6 separate regions of the Homo sapiens genome follow, and all the other regions are linked to region 3. The links are contacts of gene promoters, found by promoter capture Hi-C in blood cells and fetal thymus (Javierre and others, 2016). All regions are on one chromosome and are shown on one strand. Each heading gives the region's core, a stretch centred on a gene start or on the middle of the fragment in contact. The rest is flanking DNA. Distances are from core to core; before and after follow the strand shown.

Region 1 (3,067 bases), core at 295-2,794, 730 kb after region 3:
TCAGGAGGCTGAGGTGGGAGAATTGCTTGAACCCGGAAGGCAGAGGTTGCAGTGAGCCGAGATCACGCCACTGCACTCCAGCCTGGGCGACAGAGCGAGACTCCATTTCAAAAAAAAGAACTACAAGTTCTGATTCCGGACTCCCAGATGTGAGTTTTAATCTCCTCTCCACTGATTGATCCTGACTAATCACTAGCCCCCTGTGCCCAATTTCAACAGTATGCTGGAGTCAAATCTGAACCCCAAACTATGCCCTCTTAAGGGGGGTCCCTCTGGGATGCCAACATGCATTCACTTCTTCACCTGGCTAGGCATTCCATGAGTATTCACATTGTAGTCACTCCCCTAGGGCTATGCCCAGGAGTTAGTACTTTCCTACCACTTGGTGATCTTGAGTGAGTTTTGGATGTCCTCAATGGGTCCTGAGATGAGTCAGAGGAGAGCTAGAGTTGGGAACTGATCACCAGTGGCCCCCCCAGTCCTCAGCTCTTGAAGAAAGGGAATGAATGCTCTGGCCATTTGCATCTGTGCGAAGGATCGAACAAAGCCACTTTCTACAATGCAACCCTGTCCGACGCCCCCCTTCCCAAAGCTGCCTGCAACTTTCAACCCCGCTGAATGGACTTCGCACTGGGACAGAGGCAAAGACTTAAATGAGAAGCCAAAGAAATGTCGGCTCCATCACCAAAATTAGAAGTGTGGCTTAAGAAGCCACATCGCCCCGGCCCGGCGGTGGCCAGTTCACCTCATTATGATAATCAGTGTGTTTTTCCTTCGCAGACAAAGAAGGATCCTTATGCGACGAATACTGGAATCCAGCAGCTAACCTCATTAACGTCTGCAGCCTCTTCCTTCGACAAGGCCCGAGATTAGCCCTGTGTTCATTAAGGGAAAAGGGCGGAAAGTGGAATAAAACTGAAAAACACCGCCAGGGTAAGGGGGAGGGGAGGCCCTTTTCTGTTAGCCATTCATTCACTGAAATACTTCGTGTACCTTCAGGATTTAATCACCAGCAAAGGGGGCGGTAGGGAGGGGGCAGGGTTTACCAGGATGTGGGAGGTAAAGAGGTTAAACTCGATGGAAGGAGTTAAAAACCCAGAATAGGGTGATTTGATGTGAAAGCTTCCTGGGATTTGTCACTGGGATAATCAATTTAAAACCTTCTTCCCATTTGCTTTCTTTTAGCCCAACTAACGTAAGGGGAAACCGTCTTTGGATGTGTTTTTGGTGGCTTTTAATATTTTCTAAGTCTCCCTTTCCTACTTTTTTTTTGTCTTTAATGTCTTTGTTTAGTTATTCTCTTCTCCTGTCTCTCCTGCACGCTCCTCCCTTTCCACTTCTTTCTTCTCTCTTCGGTCCTCCCCGTGGGAACCTAATGTATACGAAAATCTAGTGGTGCCTCCAGTTGTATTTTCCCATGAATGCTTTATTGACTTTGCTTCAAGCCTTTCAAATGGCATCTGGTGCTTACCTGTGAGACATCCCACCTGACCTGCCAGATAAAGACGATTAACCCTATTTTGAAACTGAGATAAACCTGGCTTGGAAAAGTTTACCTACCCCAAGGTCTCAGCACTAAGTAATTTAACTAGGACTCGAACCCAGGCAGCGACTCCTGACTGCTTAAGACGGCATGGTAAGAAGCAGGTCCAGAAGTCGAGAGACCTGGGTGTGCAAGTTCCTAGGGGATGCTAAGAACGAGAGAAGGGGGAGCAAGTGTCTCTGTGAAGGGAGTGTAAAGACACAGAAGTGAACCGGAGACGCAGAGCCCTGTGAGAGAAGGCATGAAAATGTGTCCTTGTGTCCATGAGCCGAAAACATGACAAGGATTAAGCCACAGAAAAGTCTTTACCTTTGTGAGCGTGCTTCCACGGAGTAGAGCGAGTCAGGAAGCAGTGGGTTGAAGAGGAAATTGGAGGTGAGGAAGGAAGACAGCAAGTGTAGACAGGCCTTTCAAGAAGCTTGGCTGTGAAAGGAAAGACAGAGACTGTAGTGGCTAGAAAAGATGACAGCAGGGACCTGGGAGGCTCCAGGCTGCCGGCACAGCAAAGTCAGAAATGCAGAGGGAGGCCTTCTGGAGGTGGCCGGGACTGAGACAGGTACAATTCTTCCTCTAGAACTCAGGGAACAGGGGTTCAATGATCCAGTGGGGCCCAATCTGTGGAGCCTCTTGACAGCCTCTGTTTCCCTGGGAGTGGCAGTGGCCGGTCCTGGCTCAGGACAGGGAGTTGTGAGGATCAAATGAATGGACGGTTGCAAAAAGTGACAGAAACATTCACTACCATTACTCACTGGGAGCAGGACTCTCGATTTTACAGCCCACTCGAATCTCACTGGGGCCTGGATTTTCACTGACCATAAATTATTCGTCCTGAACATTAAGGATGTAAAAACCACTGGTAAAAGCTCCTGCCAGTCTCTGGAAGACAAAAGGTCCCCTCCTAATAGCCTGGATTAACTCAAAGCAGGTCTCCGCCCACTTCATTTGTCACCGTCCAAGTCATCCTTGCACCTCCATTTGCCACATAATCCAATCAGCCCCTTTCAGAGGCTGGGCAGCTATTGTCTACACTGAGCTGGGCTTCTCTAAAGCAGCCCAAGTTGTTTTTGTCTTGTCCGGACAAAACTGGTTGGCTTAAAACGGGACGAAAGAAATTCCTGGTCAAATGAGGACCCCAATTAGGTTCCAAGAGACTGTTTTCATTATCTTTGTATCAGATACCTAGCCTGGTGCACTGGGCAGATTGTCGGTGCCCCAGAAAATGTTTGTTGAATTAATTCATTTTTATTTATTCTGGAATTTCTTAATTGAACACAAACACACACAGCACCTACTGAGTGCTGTTCTCACTAAGGGAGAATTGGGCTGGACATGTGAGCAAGGAGGGACAGCCTCGGGTGCTTGAGTAGCTCACACTTTCCACAGCAATTTACAAAGCACTTTCATAGTAGTTACAGCATTTGGTCTTCAAAAGCGCCCTGTGGGGTAGATACACGAGGGGGTGTGTGTGTGTGTGTGTGTGTGTGTGTGTGTGTGTGTGTTTTAATCTCCATTTAGACCATGAAA
Region 2 (2,802 bases), core at 79-2,578, 670 kb after region 3:
GGCCTCCCAAAGTGCTGGGATTACAGCTGTGAGTCACCGTGCCTGGCTCATTAAGAGATTTTTAAGGCAGTAACATGGCAGAAATTTTGTCTTGGGTAGAGTAGTCAGAGAAATTTTATAGTAAAATGTATTGTTCTATGCTAAAAATAATTAGACCTTATCTCATAGGTAATTAAGAGATAGAATAAAGCTTTAAGCAGAAGTTATAAGAGCAAATTCGTGTATCTTGCAAGGGAGAGTGACCTTTTTATTTTGAGGAATGACATGGTCAGAATTTTATATCATGCGAAGAGGTTTGGAATTAAGCCAATAAAGGGTTTTAGGAGTGACCTGATGAGATTTGGGGGTTCGTATTAATCAGTTGGCAAGTAAATTACACGGTGAAAATTTTCATTTTATGCTAAGTGGTTGAAACTTTACAGGCAATAAAAATGAATTTTTATATGTGTTAAATAGAGAAATTATGAGATGACCTTTATTCATCTTGCTAACAGTTTAAACTTTGATGTTAAGAAGTATTAAGATTTTTCTAACATGCCGAGGATATTAGATTTTGAGCTGAAGGCAGGAACATTGAAGGATTTAATCATTCACATGGTCGAATTTGTAAATATGTTAAGCAGTGTAGACTTTATATTAAGAGGGGGCATAATCTAGTTTTTAAATCGTCTTGCTAAGAAATTTAAATTTTCACCAATAAAGAGTTTTAAGTGAGAGACATGCTGAGATTTTTATTCCTGATAGATAAGTCTGCAGATGAATTACTTAGTTTTTGTATTTCAATTAGAATTATTTATTTGTATTTCAATTAGAATTTTATATTAGAGGTTTGGAATTTTACAGTAATAATGCATATCTCAGAGGACTTTTATGGAGAGGAAATGAGTTAATTTCTGCAATGTGCTATGTACATCATGATGATGATGATGATGATTCTTATAATTCCTATACCATGCTGATTTGTATACTGTGCTTTAAAAAAATGTGATCTCTACCTTGAGGAATGACAAAATAAGAATTTTATATTATATTAAGGCCCTTACATTTTAACCAGAGAATAGTTTTGGTGAGTTTACATGTCAGATATGTTTACGCTAGAAGGTTTGGATTTAATATTGCAGACAGTAAATAAACAGTGGAAGGCTTTAATCAGAGAGACTGCATGATCAAATTTAAGTGTCATGCTAACAAGGGTGTACTTAATTTTGAGAAACAGCAGATCTGAATTTTGTATCCTGTTGGAAAGCTTGGATTTTAGCCAATGAGTTTCACGTAAGGGGGAACGCAGTTTTTTTTTTTTTTTTTACGGATGGGTCCAGTGGCTTAGAAGAAAACTCAGAAGTAACAAAAGGTGTTAAATTTATAAAGAGCAGTAGCTTTACAGTTAATCTATCAGATAATCAAAGCTTAATTTGCTCTGCCCCAGCAGAGAAGAAATGTGCAAATAACCCCAACCAAGACATTCCCTTTCAATTCTGTCTCAGCCCACTAAAACCACCCAACACTAGATTTCCAAAAATCCACTCTGGGACCGTCAGATTCCAAAGATGTCACATGTTCCCCCCAACCCCCACACTCAATGTCCCAACTCTGCCAGATACATGTCTGTTGGGAGGGCTCAACCAGCAACAGAGAGAAAAAGATATTTGCTAGAAAGAGGAGACCAGACCCACTGGCGTTAAGAAGGGGACCTGGGAGGATAAGATTGGAGAGGCGTGCAGATATGCTTGCACTGGTGAAATTGAGGCCAGATGTGTGAAGTTCCAGAAGCCTCACAAAGAGGGCAGTCCTGGGAGAGTGGAGATTGTAGGAAGAGAAGGAGATTATTTGAAGATCTCCTCAACAGCTCAGAGGTCGGGAGAACATAGCATTGGAAGGAGACCAAATCGAGAAAGAGAAATTGGCCAAAAGTCTGAGTTAGAATCAAGTAACAAATATGCAGTTATCCAGCACATAGTAGGTATGTTATAAAATTTATGGAAAAAAAAAAAAAAAACCCAGACCTGTACACACCCCCTGAAATTTCTATTTTGAACATGGGGAAGGAAATAAGAACTATTTTGGGCTGCTGACCCAACTGACGGGACAGTGGCCAAGTGCCCATTTTCTCCTCTTCCACTGCACTGGTGAAACAGTAGGCATCTTTGCTAGAGATTCCCGCTCCACAACCAAGGTGGCTGGGCTTGCTCCAGAGCCCTGAGCCTGCCAGGGGTGGCTTTGGATGGTGCTGAGATGTGACCTCTGTGATTCTCAGGTGACCAAAGCAGGAAAAGAGGATTGACCAGGTGCATGTGCCAGGGGGGAATGGAGCAGCCTGTGCACCCTGCCAGGTACCCGCCTGCCACGGTGGCTGCTCCCAGCCACAGAATTTATGGGCTGTGAATTTCTCACATCTATGGAGGAAAAGGACAGGACAGGCAGACTGAATAAGCCTGGGAGGCAGGTCAGGGGTTGACAGATCTTCCCTCCCTGGGGGCACCCCAAGTGACCAGCCAAAGAGGCTGGCTCGATACAAGAAGGCTTTCCCCCATTTCTCTCTGCTCTGATTAGTTGGGCATCTGATTTGTCCTTGAGACCCTGATACTGCCACTTCACAAGATCCTAAACTACTGCCTTTACTCCCCACACTCCCCTTCCACCACCAGGTTCTGATCTCCACGGTCCCAGCTACTGACTGGACGCCATCACAACCTTACCAATCTTCAGAATACACTCCTTTCCATCCGACGAAATGATAGAACCCTCTGAAGACTCATTTGAGACGATGATGGAGCATAAGAATCCATCATCAAAACAAATGGA
Region 3 (3,117 bases), core at 367-2,866:
GGAAGGCGCTCATGCGCGCCATGAACGGTGGTCAGGTGCAGCTGCCGAAATTGAGAACCAGCGGGCGGTTCCCTTGCGCGTAGTCGAGGATGTGCTGGCTCTGGAAGCCGTCGGGCAGAACCACCTCGGAGTTGGGCGCCGGACCGCCCTCGTGCGCCTGCTTGAAGAAATCCAACTTCTGGCCATGCCACACCGCCTTGAGCGACGCCAGGGTGCACAGGCGGTTGTCGTCGGACACGCAGATGGGCGGGTCATCGGGAGGCACCTCCTCGCCTTCACTGTTGAGCTCCACTTCGGGCTCGGGCTGCCCCCGGCGGCGGCGGCCCAGGAAATGCTTGCGGATACACAAGAAATCGAGAAGCCAGAGCATGAAGGCCGTGCCGAGGAAGCGCGGGAAGAGCACGAGGCACGAGGCGGTCTGGGCGCAGAGCCTCAAGGAGTGAAGCAGCAGGGAGCGGAGCATGGTGGCTGCAGGCCCCGAAGCCCCCTGGGACCCCTCGCCCTCTCCGACCACCAACCGCGACGTGGCCTGGCGAGGCATCTGGGCTTCAGCAGTGCAGGGAGTTCAATTTATAGCGGAGGCTTCAATTGGCGGGAGACTCCACCTCCGGCCCGGCCCGCCCCCTTGCAACTTGAGCCCGGAGGGATCACCCAGCAGCGCGGCCAATGCCCTAGAAATCTTGGGCTGAGGGCGGGCGCAGGCGGGCGGAGGGCGGAGCGGCCGGGCCTGGGGCCGGTGGGGGCGGGCCCGGGCCCCGCAGCCAGCTCTCGGGGGCGGGGGACTCCGGCAGCCGCTGCCGCTGGGGACCGGGAGCCCGACCAGGGACCTGGGCGTCCGCTGGGGAGGTCCTCCAGCTGGCGCGAGCGCTGCGCGCCGCCCTGGTCCCCGCCGCCTGGCTCCGGCCCGCGCCCCCCTCGCCGCGCACCTGAGCCGAGCTCCCCGGCGGCCGCCGAGCCGCGCCGGAGCTCCGGTTCGCTTCCCGCGCGCCGCCGCCAACGCCGCCCACGCCGCTGCCGCTCGTGCGGGGCCGCTGCCCAGGTGCCGCGGGAGGCCGGGTCCGCGGCCGCCGCTTCGGTGGCCCCGGCTCCCGCCCCACCGAGGACGCGGGCCAGCGAGGAGGCAACTTTGCGTTCCCGCCGCCTTCCTGGCTCGCCCGCGGGCGCCGCTCGCCTGCCGGAGCCCGCCCGCCCGCCTCCCGCGCGCGCTCACACTCGCGCCTCGCACACGGCCGCCCCCCGCACCGCCCCGCCACGCACACCGCGCTCCGCGCCCCCCGCCGCTGCCCGAGGCTGCCGCGCGCCGCCCCAGCCCGCGCCGCCCTGGCCGCGCCCGCCCCGTCCCATCTCGTTCCAGCGGGGCGCCGCGGTTCCTGGGTCAGCGGCCGCCGGGGCCGGGCTGAGAGGTGCGGAGGGCAGAGCCCGCGGGCGGGTTACCGCCGGGCGCCGGAGACCGGAGAGCTGGGGAAAGCGGCGCCGGCCCTGCGCCCCCAGCCGACCCGGGCGCGGGGCGCCACGGGCGTGGGGCGCGGGGCAGCGGGCGCGGGGCGGCGCCGGCCCCGGGCGGCTCTCCCACTAGGGGTAGCTGTTGCCTGAACGCCGGAGCGCTCCCCTCTCGCCGCTTGCCTCGCCCAGCGCAGCCCCGGCCGCTGGGCGCACCCGTCCCGTTCGTCCCCGGACGTTGCTCTCTACCCCGGGAACGTCGAGACTGGAGCGCCCGAACTGAGCCACCTTCGCGGACCCCGAGAGCGGCGGCGCGACTCACCGCGGAGGCGCCCGGACGCGTCAAGTGCGTACTTTCAACCGTAAATGGGTGCTGAGCGTTTAGGGGTGCGGGGCAACTCCCTAACTCGTGGGGCCCTGGCCGGCCCTGCCGCGGCGTCCGAGACCTTCTGATCCCTCGCTGCGCGCGGCGCGGGGTTGGCGACTTGGGCTCAGGGGCGGCGGGGCGGGGAGGTGCCTTGACCTAGGGACCCAGAGGCCGGGAGCAAGTCTCCTTTCGCCTTGGACTGCAGTGTCCCCCAGGGCAAGGCCTGAACCAGGTCGCGAGGGTCTGTCTCCCGTCTGGGGAGCTGAACTGCCCGAGACACTGTCGCAGTCGCGGGGACTTGTCTGGAGCGGCGGGGTCTGAGCCCAAGTCGGAAGCCGCCGCCGCCGCCAGCGTCCCGTGCGCCTGCCGCCCCGGGACCAGCCGCGAAACTTCTTCTCGGGACGGAGACAGCGCTCGCCGCCCGGGCCGAGGTAGGAGCTGGCTGGGCTCGGTAGAGCGCGGGCGAATCGCTTTCGGCAGCGAAGGAACGTGTCGGGAGAAGCCAACTGCAGGACCAGGGCCCCAGCGGGCGCGCAGAGACGCCTGCCTTGGGCGGAGGTCCCCCCCTCCGGTTTTCGTGGCTCTGGTAGGGCCCTCTGTCCCGTGAGCTCCTCACTGGACCTGAGGCTACAGGCTTCAGCAGGTCAAGCGCCCGAGTGTGCCTGGAGGATTGGCGGCGGGGTGGCATGAGAAGGTGGCCCCTCTTCTCCATCTCCCAGTCAGGCGATTTCTCTGCTGTCTGGGGCAGGGGCGCACACCCCAGGAACTTACTACGTAGAGGGAAGCCAGCCTGGTCTCTCCCCCTTGCGTCAGTGCTCCTAAGCTGCCCCTCACCACTCTGGGTAGGGGTCTTTCAGGTGGGCTAGGGAATTCTCCTTGGAAGTCCCCTTGTTTGCTCCCCTCCATCAGGGCACCTCTGAGTTAGCCAATCATCCTCTTTTCTGGCCTCTTTTTTGCGGGGAGGAGAGTAGAGAGAGAAGCCTCCTACTCGGCAGGTCTCTGAGAGGAGGTTTGGGGGGGCTTCTGAGGTTGCTCCTCCTGGGCAGAGTCAAGGGGTGTTGAGGGTTCCAACTTTTACTGGACAATCTCTCAAGCTCTGATTCCCTGATTTCTGGGAGGTGTCAGTGTAGGGCTTGTGTCCTGCCCCACCCACACAGCATTTGGTGCAGGCACATGGGATGGTTCCCCAAGCCCTTTTCCCACAGTTAGTTTCAGAAAATGCATAAGCCACCTAAGGCTGGGAGAGCCTTTCTGTGCTGGCTGAGATCTGGTGGCATGTGCATGCATATGTGTGCAAGTGTGTGTGTGTG
Region 4 (2,749 bases), core at 214-2,713, 710 kb after region 3:
TGCCTGGCTGGTTCCTTGAATGCCTCCAGTGAGCTATGGGCTCCCTACATCCCAAGGACATCTGGGACCAGTCTCTTCAGAAAGCCATGACCCAAAGGACTTGGACAAACAGTTCACAGAAGATAAAATACAATTTGTTAACAAACATAGGTCAAAGTGTTCACCCATCATTAGTAATTAAAGCAATGCAAGTTAAAGTAATGCAAAAGTACTTTATAACAGAGACAAACTAGCCATATCTTAATTAAGTGGTCATACATTGCTGAACATTGTAAAATGCTGTAAGCTTACTGAAATTATTCAACATCCATACAAAGATCCATAGCCTTTCTTTCAAGAGACTTAACCAAAGGAAATTCATTCATTCATTCACCAATCCATCCTTCCGCCTATCCTTCCACCCTCTTATCCATCAGCCAAACACTCACTCACTCGCTCCTTCCTCCATTCTTCCATCCACTCATTCATCATTTATTTATAGTCTACAACATGTTGGGCATCAGAGATACAAAGGCCAATTCAATAAGCTCCTTGCCCTTATGGGGCTCACAGTCTAGCAGGGGAAACTGATCTGTAGTGAAGCAATGATAATTTCTGGGTGGAAGAACATAATTCTTAAGAATGAAAAAAAGGGTGTTTTAAGCAGTTAGTTGTGGCATTATTCATAATATTTTTAAAAGGTGGTTATACATAAGAATAACAGAATGGTTCTGTGAATGATGCCATAGCCACTCAACAAGGCACAACGCAGCAAGTGAGGTTATGAAGATTCATGGAACAAGGGAAAATGTTGATGACAGAAAATTAAATAGAAGAGGCAGGATACAAAAAAAAAAAAGTGTATGTGGTGAATAATGGCAATTAGGTTTTTTTAAAGAAGGGATGCTCATTAAAGAATAGACACTCTTTTTTTAAAAAAAGTATGCCTGTAAGAATGTAAAATGGGTGACATGTCAGAATGTTGAGTGGTGCATGCATTTCCCACTGCTCTAGGTCAAGTGCCATCCACACCATTTATATTAGGAACACAACGGGACACAGCAGGATTCGTGGCCTGTCTATCCCAGAGGTCCTGAGGCCAAGCTTCCCAAGGAGGGAGTTGGGAGTCACAAGAGGAGGCCAAGGAGAGTTGTAGCTCCTGGTGTCACCAGGAAAGGATTTGTGTGTGGGGAGCATGCAAATGACAATGTCAAGAGACAGAATTAATTCTCATTGTTAAAAGTTTAACGAACACATAAAGATAGGCCCTGACCAGACAGGAGCACTAGGATCCCAACTCGGACCTTGTGGGTCTGGTACAGAAAGAACCGGGTAGGGAGCACGTGAAGGATGTTTTATCTCTGGCTTTTGTGCCATTAGGAACCCTATCCCGAATCTCAGCATCCCAGAACTAAAGAACCTTTGAATTACAGATACAAAACTCTTAAGGGTCAAAACCCTAAGAGCCCTGATCCCCCCTCATGGCCTCCACATTTCCAAAAGGACACACAGAATTCATCCAACCCAAACCCACCCAGCCTCCAGGGCACCAGTGGGTCTCCCCAGAGCTGCTCTCATTGGCTCAGTTCGACCCACTGTGACCCGTCAGGACAGCCCCTAGATGTTGGGAGCAGGCTCTCCTAGCAGCCAACGTCGCTTGTTCCTTCCAATTTCCTCTTGGTGCATGCAATGGGCCCTCCCTTCCCCGCCTTCTGCACACTTTAAGTCTTCCTGAGCCTCTGCTGACTTTTTTTAACAGCCGTACATGAGTTCTTTTGAAAGACCCTCCCGGTCTTCTTCTGCCCTGAACCCCTCCCGCCCCATCCTCATCCAACAGTGACACAGCTTGTCAGGGAGAAGCTTCAGCAGGTGTCCCCAGGGATAATAAGTGCACCCCCAGACCTCAGTCCAGCCAAGGCATAGCCTGGAGCCCCAGATTCTGAAAGAGAAGAAGAGCAGACCCCTGAGGCCCCAGCACCACATCAGGCCCACGAGGCCCAGCTCATGTGGCCCTGACACGTGGTACTGGAGGCTCGGAAGGTGGCTCCTGACACATGAATTCCATGTCCTCCGCCTTCCAAATGCTGTTGCCATCCACTCGGCCGGAGCTAGAAGCGTGGGAACCACCCCCTTCTTCTTGCCTCCCTCCCTCCTTCATATCCTGTCTATAACCCCATAGCTTTGATTCCTGAGCACCCCACTTTGCTGCCATCAGCTCAGACCTCAAGCATCACACTAGCTAACAGCCCCATCCATGCCTGCGCCCGCACTCCCCATCCCACCCAGCGTCTACAGAGTCACTCTGAGCATGACGCCTCCCACTCCAGATGGCCTGGCCCCACCCCACTCCCCTGCCTCCCACGTGCTCCCTGCCACAAGTCCTGAGTCCATCCAAGCTGTGCTCCTACTGCTCCGGGCGCTTGTTAAGAATCCAGTGTTTTTATATGTCCCAAATAGGAATTGAGAGGTCAACAAGGGAGACTTTGGTCCTTGCTTTTACAGACAAACACAGGCACACAACACAAAACTACACACATTTCCTCCACTACAGAGAAAGGAGACTCAACAGAACCGGGGAGGCCCTGGGGGAGGACTGTCAGCACGAGCAACTCTCCAGATTTACCCCGGCAGTCCCCCGGAGGGCGAGTCAGAGAAGAGACAACCTCGACACAGCGAAACGCAATCCCGCCAAGTTACAAAACACGTCGTGAAACAGCCGAGAAGACAGAGAGGCCTTGAACCAGGCTCTGGGGATGGCATGTCAAGGAAG
Region 5 (3,088 bases), core at 435-2,934, 550 kb after region 3:
CATGAAAATGCAGTCAAAATTGTGAACAGAAGCAAGTTCATACCATGAAATATTTTCATTATTAAAGAAGAATAACAATAGGGCATATATGGACAAATCCATAAAACAAACTTAAAGAAAGCAGAAGAAAGAAATCAATAAAGACAGATATTATTTAATTTGAACACAGGCACACAAAAACCAGTTGAACTGACAAGTTATCCCAAGAACAGATTCTTTGAGAAACCTCTAAAATAGATATTCTTCTAGGTCATCTAATGAAAAAGAGATAAAGTATGCACATACAAAATTAAGAATGACAAAAGTGAAGTAATCATAGAAATACATTAAAATTCTAGTATAAAAATACTATTTATAATCCTATGTGAATAAGTTTTTAAATCTCAGAAAAATCTATTATTTTCTAGGATAAATAATATCTAAAAACATTATTGAGCACTCATTATGTGCCAGAACCAGTGCAAGGTACTTTATCTCTGAATCCTCACGCTGGTCCTGTTAGGGCCCTCGGAGGCTTTCGTTTTAACCATTTAACAGGTGAGGAAACTAAGAACTAGGGAGGTGACACAGTTTCCCCATCATATGGAAAATGAGAGAGCCAAAATCTTAAACTGGATTTGTCTAATTCCAGTGCCTGCGCATTTAAACGCTGAGCTATGTTAGAAAAAGAAGCAAAAATTCTAAAGACGTAGAAAACCTAAAGAATCCAATAAATACAGAAGAAATAAGAGACGTTACCAAAGACTTATCCCAGGATAGTTACATACGTGAGTTCTTTCAAGCTTTCGTGGACTAAATCATTCAAATAATGCATATATGGTACAGAACATAGAAAAAGATGGAATGTTCCCTAATTTATTTTACAAAGTCAGCATAACTTTGACACCCAAATTCAACAACAAATAGATTTGGAAAATTCTAAATGAAATATTAGCCCAGCAAATCTTGTAGTGTATTAAAACAACAATACACCATAATCAAGTAGAATTCAATCAAAAATGTTTCAAAGTTACGAAACATTAGCTTATTGTATCAACAGATCAACAGAGAAAAACAACATGATATCTGCAGATATCAAAAAAGCATTTCATAAAATTCTAACTCCAATCCTGATTTAAAGTCTTATATTAACTAGGTATAAATACTTCATTTATTTAAAAAATCTCAACTAAAAAATGATTTGCAACCATACTTAAAAGTGAACCAGAAACAAGACAAGATTTCTGTTATCAATAATATAATGTTTTAGAAGATCTAGTCAAAGGAAAAGAAATAGATGAGATAAAGTGACAGACAAAAATTGCATTATATATAGATATGAATGACCCTTTTTTTTTGACATGGAGTTTCGCTCTTGTCACCCAGGCTGGAGTCCAGTGGCACAATCTCGGCTCACTGCAACCTCCGCCTCCCGGGTTCAAGCAATTCTCCTGCCTCAGCCTCCTGAGTAGCTGGGATTACAGGCACCCACCACCATGCCCAGCTAAGTTTTTTGTATTTTTGGTAGAGCCAGGGTTTCGCCATGTTGGGCAGGCTGGTCTCGAACTCCTGACCTCAGGTGATCCGCCCACCTGGGCCTCCCAAAGTGCTGGGATTACAGGCGTTAGCCACCATGCCCAGCCATGAATGACTCTTTACCTAGAAGTTCCAAAACACTCAACTAGAAACTTGTAGAACAAATTAGAGAATTCAGTGAGATGAACAGTAACAATAAATATACAGACATTTCCCTACATACCAATAACAACCAGTTAGAAAATATAAAGAAAGTGGATCAAATTCACAATAGAAGCCATACTTAATTCCTTGAGATAAAAATAACAAATTGTGAATCTGTCGAATTTGACAACTTATGAATATATATGTATACATAAAACTCAAAATATCATGCAAAGCCTGTTTCAAAAAATATCAACTCTCTTTAAATTAATTGACAGTTTTATAAGGTTCCACACAATATCCATAAAGAATGTTTTTAACTTTACAATATCACTACAGTTCATCTGAAAGAATATACAAATAAGACTAACGGAGAAAATCTTGAAAAATAAGAATTAAGGAAGACTATTGCTACTGAGTAATAACACATTTTAACAATACAATATACTAAAATAAAGCAATGACAAAGCAATGGATAATAGAAAACCAGAACAAGAACCCGAGCTATAAAAGTATCTAGCATGTATTAAATGTGGAAGTGGAACAAATAGTTATTTCTCACAATAATTAAGATGATAAGTAAAGATTCAAATATAAAAGATGAAATCATGAAAGAACTAAAAAAAAAATTAAAGTTCAGTTTGGGAAAGGACTTTCTGAGCTAAAAGAAAAATTCAAGTGAAGAAACTGTAAGGAAAAATTAAAGATAAATTTTTAGAACATAGTAATTTTTAAAATAAAAAATAATTTATCAACAAAATGAAATGGCAGATGAAAAAGTGGGGGATCCTGGTAACATATGATATAAAAAGAGTTACTATTCTTGTTAAAAAGGCCTTACAAAATCAAAATTAAAAATGAACACACCTACAGAGCAACATGGGTAAACGATTTCCAGTTCTAAGTGGTAAACTGAACAAAGCTTGCCTGCTCTGCAGGGAGAAAAAAGTTTCAAAAGACCTATTATTAATATTATCAGAGATATTAAAGAAGCAATTGCATTCATAAAACAAATTGTTATATAATATTTAGAATATAATTTAAAAATTAAAAATTAGAAATATGAAAGCAGAAATGAAAATAAGTTAAAACATAAAGATAGGGAAATCCTTCTTAGAAACAGAACATGAATATTAAAAGTTGAAAATCAAAGGAAAAATATGGGAATATTACAAAACTAGTCAGGAGTTCCAACATACAAACAATAGAAATGCTAGGAAGAGAGAGGCTGGGCACGGTGGCTCATGCCTGTAATCCCAGCACTTTGGGAGGCCAAGGTGGGTGGATCACTTGAGGTCAGGAGTTCAAGACCAGCCTGGCCAACATGATGAAACCCCATCTCTACCAAAAATACACATATTAGCCAGGCGTGGTGGCACACGCCTGTAATCCTAGCTACTTGGGAGGCTGAGGCAGGAGAATTGCTTGA
Region 6 (3,040 bases), core at 115-2,614, 650 kb after region 3:
TTAGTAAGGTACTATCGGTATTAGTAAGGTACTGTTGGTACAACTGAAGAAAACGCGGCACAGAAATTAAATACCTTGTCCAAACTCACAAAAGTAGTCAATGGCAAAGCTGAGATTGAAACCTTAGCACCTAGAATGTGTGAAGTAGGGCCTAGCCCATGAGCAGGTTCTCAAAACCTATCTGCTAATGTTAACCCAGGTCTGCAGCAAGGCTTACTGATTCGCCATTCAGCCCTACATCCAGTCCCCTCCCTCCTTGCCTTGCACTGGAGTCATTTTTACATCTACTACCATTAGCATTCAGTCAGAATATGAGATGCCAGGAATCTAATTTGACTTGATTAATTGTACTGTAGGATGCCAGTGATATGTGTGGCCCTTGCCTGTGTGATCATTACAAATAGAATACACTAGAGATATTACTTGGGAAATAAGCTTGGATTTGATTGGATGAGAAGTTCAGCTCACTGACAGACCAAGAGAGTGAGTCCAATATGAGACAACCCCAAGGCAGATTTCTTCAGACATGGTCATAGAGAAAAGGAAATAAACAGGTTGAGGGGATGAGTTTGGAAGGAAAGAAGACTCGAGTTCAAATCCTGGGTCTGCATTTCCTCCTTATACGATTTTGGGTAAGTCACTTACCACTCCTAAACTTCGGTTTCCTTTTCACTTAATTGAGAATAGAAATTGCTATCATGGAGGGTGGCTGTGATGATTTAGAGGAGATAAAATTATGCCAAGTGCCAGTGAAGGGCTGAGTATGCGGTTGGGGCTTAGGGCTTAGTCATCCAGGAGAGCCAGTGGAAAGGCGGATGCCTGCTCTTCGTCAGTGCTGCGTGAAAGCAGCAGAGACGGAGAGTTGCCACTGAGCAGCTCCAGCACCACAGCTGGGACTTGGTCCCTGTAAGCTGGCATCCCACCTGTTGTCCCAGAGCCACCTGAGCCAGTCAGTGCGCTCAGAAGCAGAACAGAAGGCAGGAGCTTCACCAGCAAGCTCCATTCAGAGGGAACCTCTCTTCAAAGATCAAGTAAGCCTTTGATCTTGGTGGGAAATTGACTATCCTCTCTCATTCCTCTCTCCTTCCACCACCTGTGCTTCAATTCACTCATCCATCTTACCAGCATTCATGAGGTAGCCAGCCATCTCTCCATCTATGCATGTATCTTGATGTAGGCATCCATCCATCCATCAGACCTGACATCCATCCTTCCACCTCTCCATTTTGCAGAGGAATCACACAGACCTGAGTTGGAATCCTGGGTCTTGCTTCCTAGCCGACCTCGAGCAAGTCACTAACCTCTCCAAGTCCTCTAATCTGTAAAATGAAGGGAAATCAGATGTCGCTGGGATGAGGATTTAAAGAGAGCGTAGACATACCAGTGTCTGGCCTCAGCAAAGTCATTAAATGTTCATTCCCTCTGCTTCTGCAATCTGGTTGGGATTTATGCAAGGAAATAAACCACCGCATCTTTTGCATGACATGTTGAGAAGTGCTTTTTAGAAATTATCTGCGATGTTTTAGTGGTGTGCATCTTCCGGTGGCACCCAGGGCTGGGCAGTGGCCAAAGCAGTTTGGGGTGGTGGTCCCCCCTGGACTCACAGTAGAGAGTGCCATCTAGTGGATAGGCACCTGCCGGGGTCCCCTGTTGGTCCCAGGTCACAACAGCTGAGGTCAGGCAGCTAAACGGCAAGCCAGGAGGTCCAGGCGAACCCAGCCCCCAGACTGTAGGCTGCCCTTTTTGGGATGTAGTGCATGTGCTGTTTTAACCACTCAGGGGACCTGGACTGCCAGGAGCCTTTTGTTTTATGGACAATAGCCAGCTATGTTTTGCCTGCCCCTGCCCAAATCCCCTTTAAACGTTTCTGGGAAAAAGAATCATTCTCGCAGCTACTGTTTGCTGAGTGTCTCTGACATATTAGACATGCGGCTGGGGCTTCAGGGGTTAATGCTCTAACCCTCTCAATGACCCAAGGAGAGACCCAGAACTTGCCCCATTTTCAGTGAGAACACTGAGGTTTGCTGAGGTTGAGTTTCTCATTTAAGGTCCAGGCAGATATTCAACCCCTAAATGTGTAGCCATACTTACCTTCTAGAGCCCCAGATCCCCTTGAAAGAGCAGGAGATAGTTTGAACACTGACTTGACCAAGCCAACTGTAAAAGAAATTTATGAGTCAATCAAGAATATTGGAATGCTACATAGATGGTGGATGATATTAAGGAAAGGCTATTAATTTTTTAACTTGTGATAATGGTGTTGTGGTTTTATTTTTAAGAAACAAAAGCTTCTTATTTAGAGATACAAACTAAAAAATGCTCAGAGGAAACAGGATGGTGTCTGAAATTTGCTTCGAAATAGTCCAGGGGTAGGGGTTGGGCAGTGGGAGTAGAGGGACAGTTTAGGGTTTAGATGAAACAAGAGGGGCCAGGGTTTGACGGCAACCGTGTCCGGGTAATGGCAAGATGAAAATTGAGTAAACAGTAAAAATACGTACTATTTTCTCTACTTTTGTGTTGTTTGCAATTTCCCATAATAAAGGGATTTTTAAATCAACAAGTGAAAATACAGTGCAGAAGATGAAGGGCTGGGGGTGAAGGGTGCCATTTAAAAGAACAGAGGGGCCTGGGGTATGAGAGAAATTTTCTGGAGTAGCAGGGAACTGATTCACAGGGGGCAAATGCCTCAAAGTGAAAAGGGAACTAGAGGGGCTGGATCCAGAGGGAAGAGAATCATTCCACGTTGAGTGGACGGAGGACGATGTACCAGGGTGCAGAGTGTTGCGGAACGAGACACCCGCCAGCTGCCCAGAGACCCTCCTGCAGCCCCCAGCGCTCCTCTCCCCACTCTCCCTCCCAGTCCCTGCCTCCCCGAGCCCTCCAGCTCTCTCCCTGACCCCTGGCTGGAAAAGGGCCTGAGGGTACCACTCTTCAAGGCAGAGCGGCCACCTGATGAGCCCTTCCCTGGGACTCTGGTCCCAATTTGGTTACTGGGACAACGCTGTCTCCCATTAGACACGCTTTGAAGGAAGACCCTGGA

What was found. Contacts are between HindIII fragments. The CHiCAGO score rates a contact against its expected background, and 5 or more counts as called.
Region 1: a contact is called between a fragment that was not itself captured here and the fragment with the promoter of DIO3OS in region 3, in 7 of 17 cell types (M1 macrophages, M0 macrophages, activated CD4 T cells and 4 more). The highest score is 11.0, in M1 macrophages.
Region 2: a contact is called between a fragment that was not itself captured here and the fragment with the promoter of DIO3OS in region 3, in 11 of 17 cell types (erythroblasts, total CD8 T cells, M0 macrophages and 8 more). The highest score is 8.7, in erythroblasts.
Region 4: a contact is called between a fragment that was not itself captured here and the fragment with the promoter of DIO3OS in region 3, in 13 of 17 cell types (M0 macrophages, naive CD8 T cells, activated CD4 T cells and 10 more). The highest score is 10.9, in M0 macrophages.
Region 5: a fragment that was not itself captured here is called in contact with the fragment with the promoter of DIO3OS in region 3 in 1 of 17 cell types (total B cells); the score reaches 5.2 in total B cells.
Region 6: a contact is called between a fragment that was not itself captured here and the fragment with the promoter of DIO3OS in region 3, in 5 of 17 cell types (total B cells, M1 macrophages, total CD4 T cells and 2 more). The highest score is 7.0, in total B cells.

What each region holds. Positions count from the first base shown.
Region 1 is chr14:100,830,320-100,833,386 of GRCh38, reverse strand. It overlaps MEG3 (maternally expressed 3), which reads right to left. Exons shown (of 10, transcript NR_190993.1): 4 at 1,853-1,966; 5 at 746-875. Among named protein-coding and RNA genes, the nearest start is that of MEG3, 5.7 kb to the right of the region's middle. RefSeq lists an enhancer at 2,233-2,734. The HindIII fragment of the contact is 839 bases long and covers 1,125-1,963 here.
Region 2 is chr14:100,884,718-100,887,519 of GRCh38, reverse strand. RTL1 (retrotransposon Gag like 1) reads left to right here. Exons shown (of 4, transcript NM_001134888.3): 4 at 2,646-2,802. The coding sequence starts at 2,732. MIR136 (microRNA 136) reads right to left here; the gene lies at 2,737-2,802. Among named protein-coding and RNA genes, the nearest start is that of MIR136, 1.4 kb to the right of the region's middle. RefSeq lists a silencer at 1,534-1,828. The HindIII fragment of the contact is 160 bases long and covers 1,249-1,408 here.
Region 3 is chr14:101,558,921-101,562,037 of GRCh38, reverse strand. It overlaps DIO3OS (DIO3 opposite strand upstream RNA), which reads left to right and starts at 1,616. Exons shown (of 2, transcript NR_152588.1): 1 at 1,616-1,786. DIO3 (iodothyronine deiodinase 3) reads right to left here and starts at 543. Exons shown (of 1, transcript NM_001362.4): 1 at 1-543. The coding sequence starts at 541. MIR1247 (microRNA 1247) reads left to right here and starts at 1,616; the gene lies at 1,616-1,751. The HindIII fragment of the contact is 17,616 bases long and covers 1-3,117 here.
Region 4 is chr14:100,851,669-100,854,417 of GRCh38, reverse strand. The region is part of intron 9 of MEG3 (maternally expressed 3); the gene reads right to left. It overlaps MIR770 (microRNA 770), which reads right to left and starts at 2,028; the gene lies at 1,931-2,028. The HindIII fragment of the contact is 756 bases long and covers 1,086-1,841 here.
Region 5 is chr14:101,012,884-101,015,971 of GRCh38, reverse strand. All of the region lies in intron 4 of LOC124903407 (mucin-2-like), which reads right to left. Among named protein-coding and RNA genes, the nearest start is that of MIR379, 7.6 kb to the left of the region's middle. The HindIII fragment of the contact is 1,799 bases long and covers 785-2,583 here.
Region 6 is chr14:100,905,215-100,908,254 of GRCh38, reverse strand. It overlaps MEG8 (maternally expressed 8, small nucleolar RNA host gene), which reads right to left. Exons shown (of 51, transcript NR_146000.1): 6 at 2,092-2,157; 7 at 1,123-1,319. Among named protein-coding and RNA genes, the nearest start is that of RTL1, 3.0 kb to the right of the region's middle. The HindIII fragment of the contact is 1,853 bases long and covers 438-2,290 here.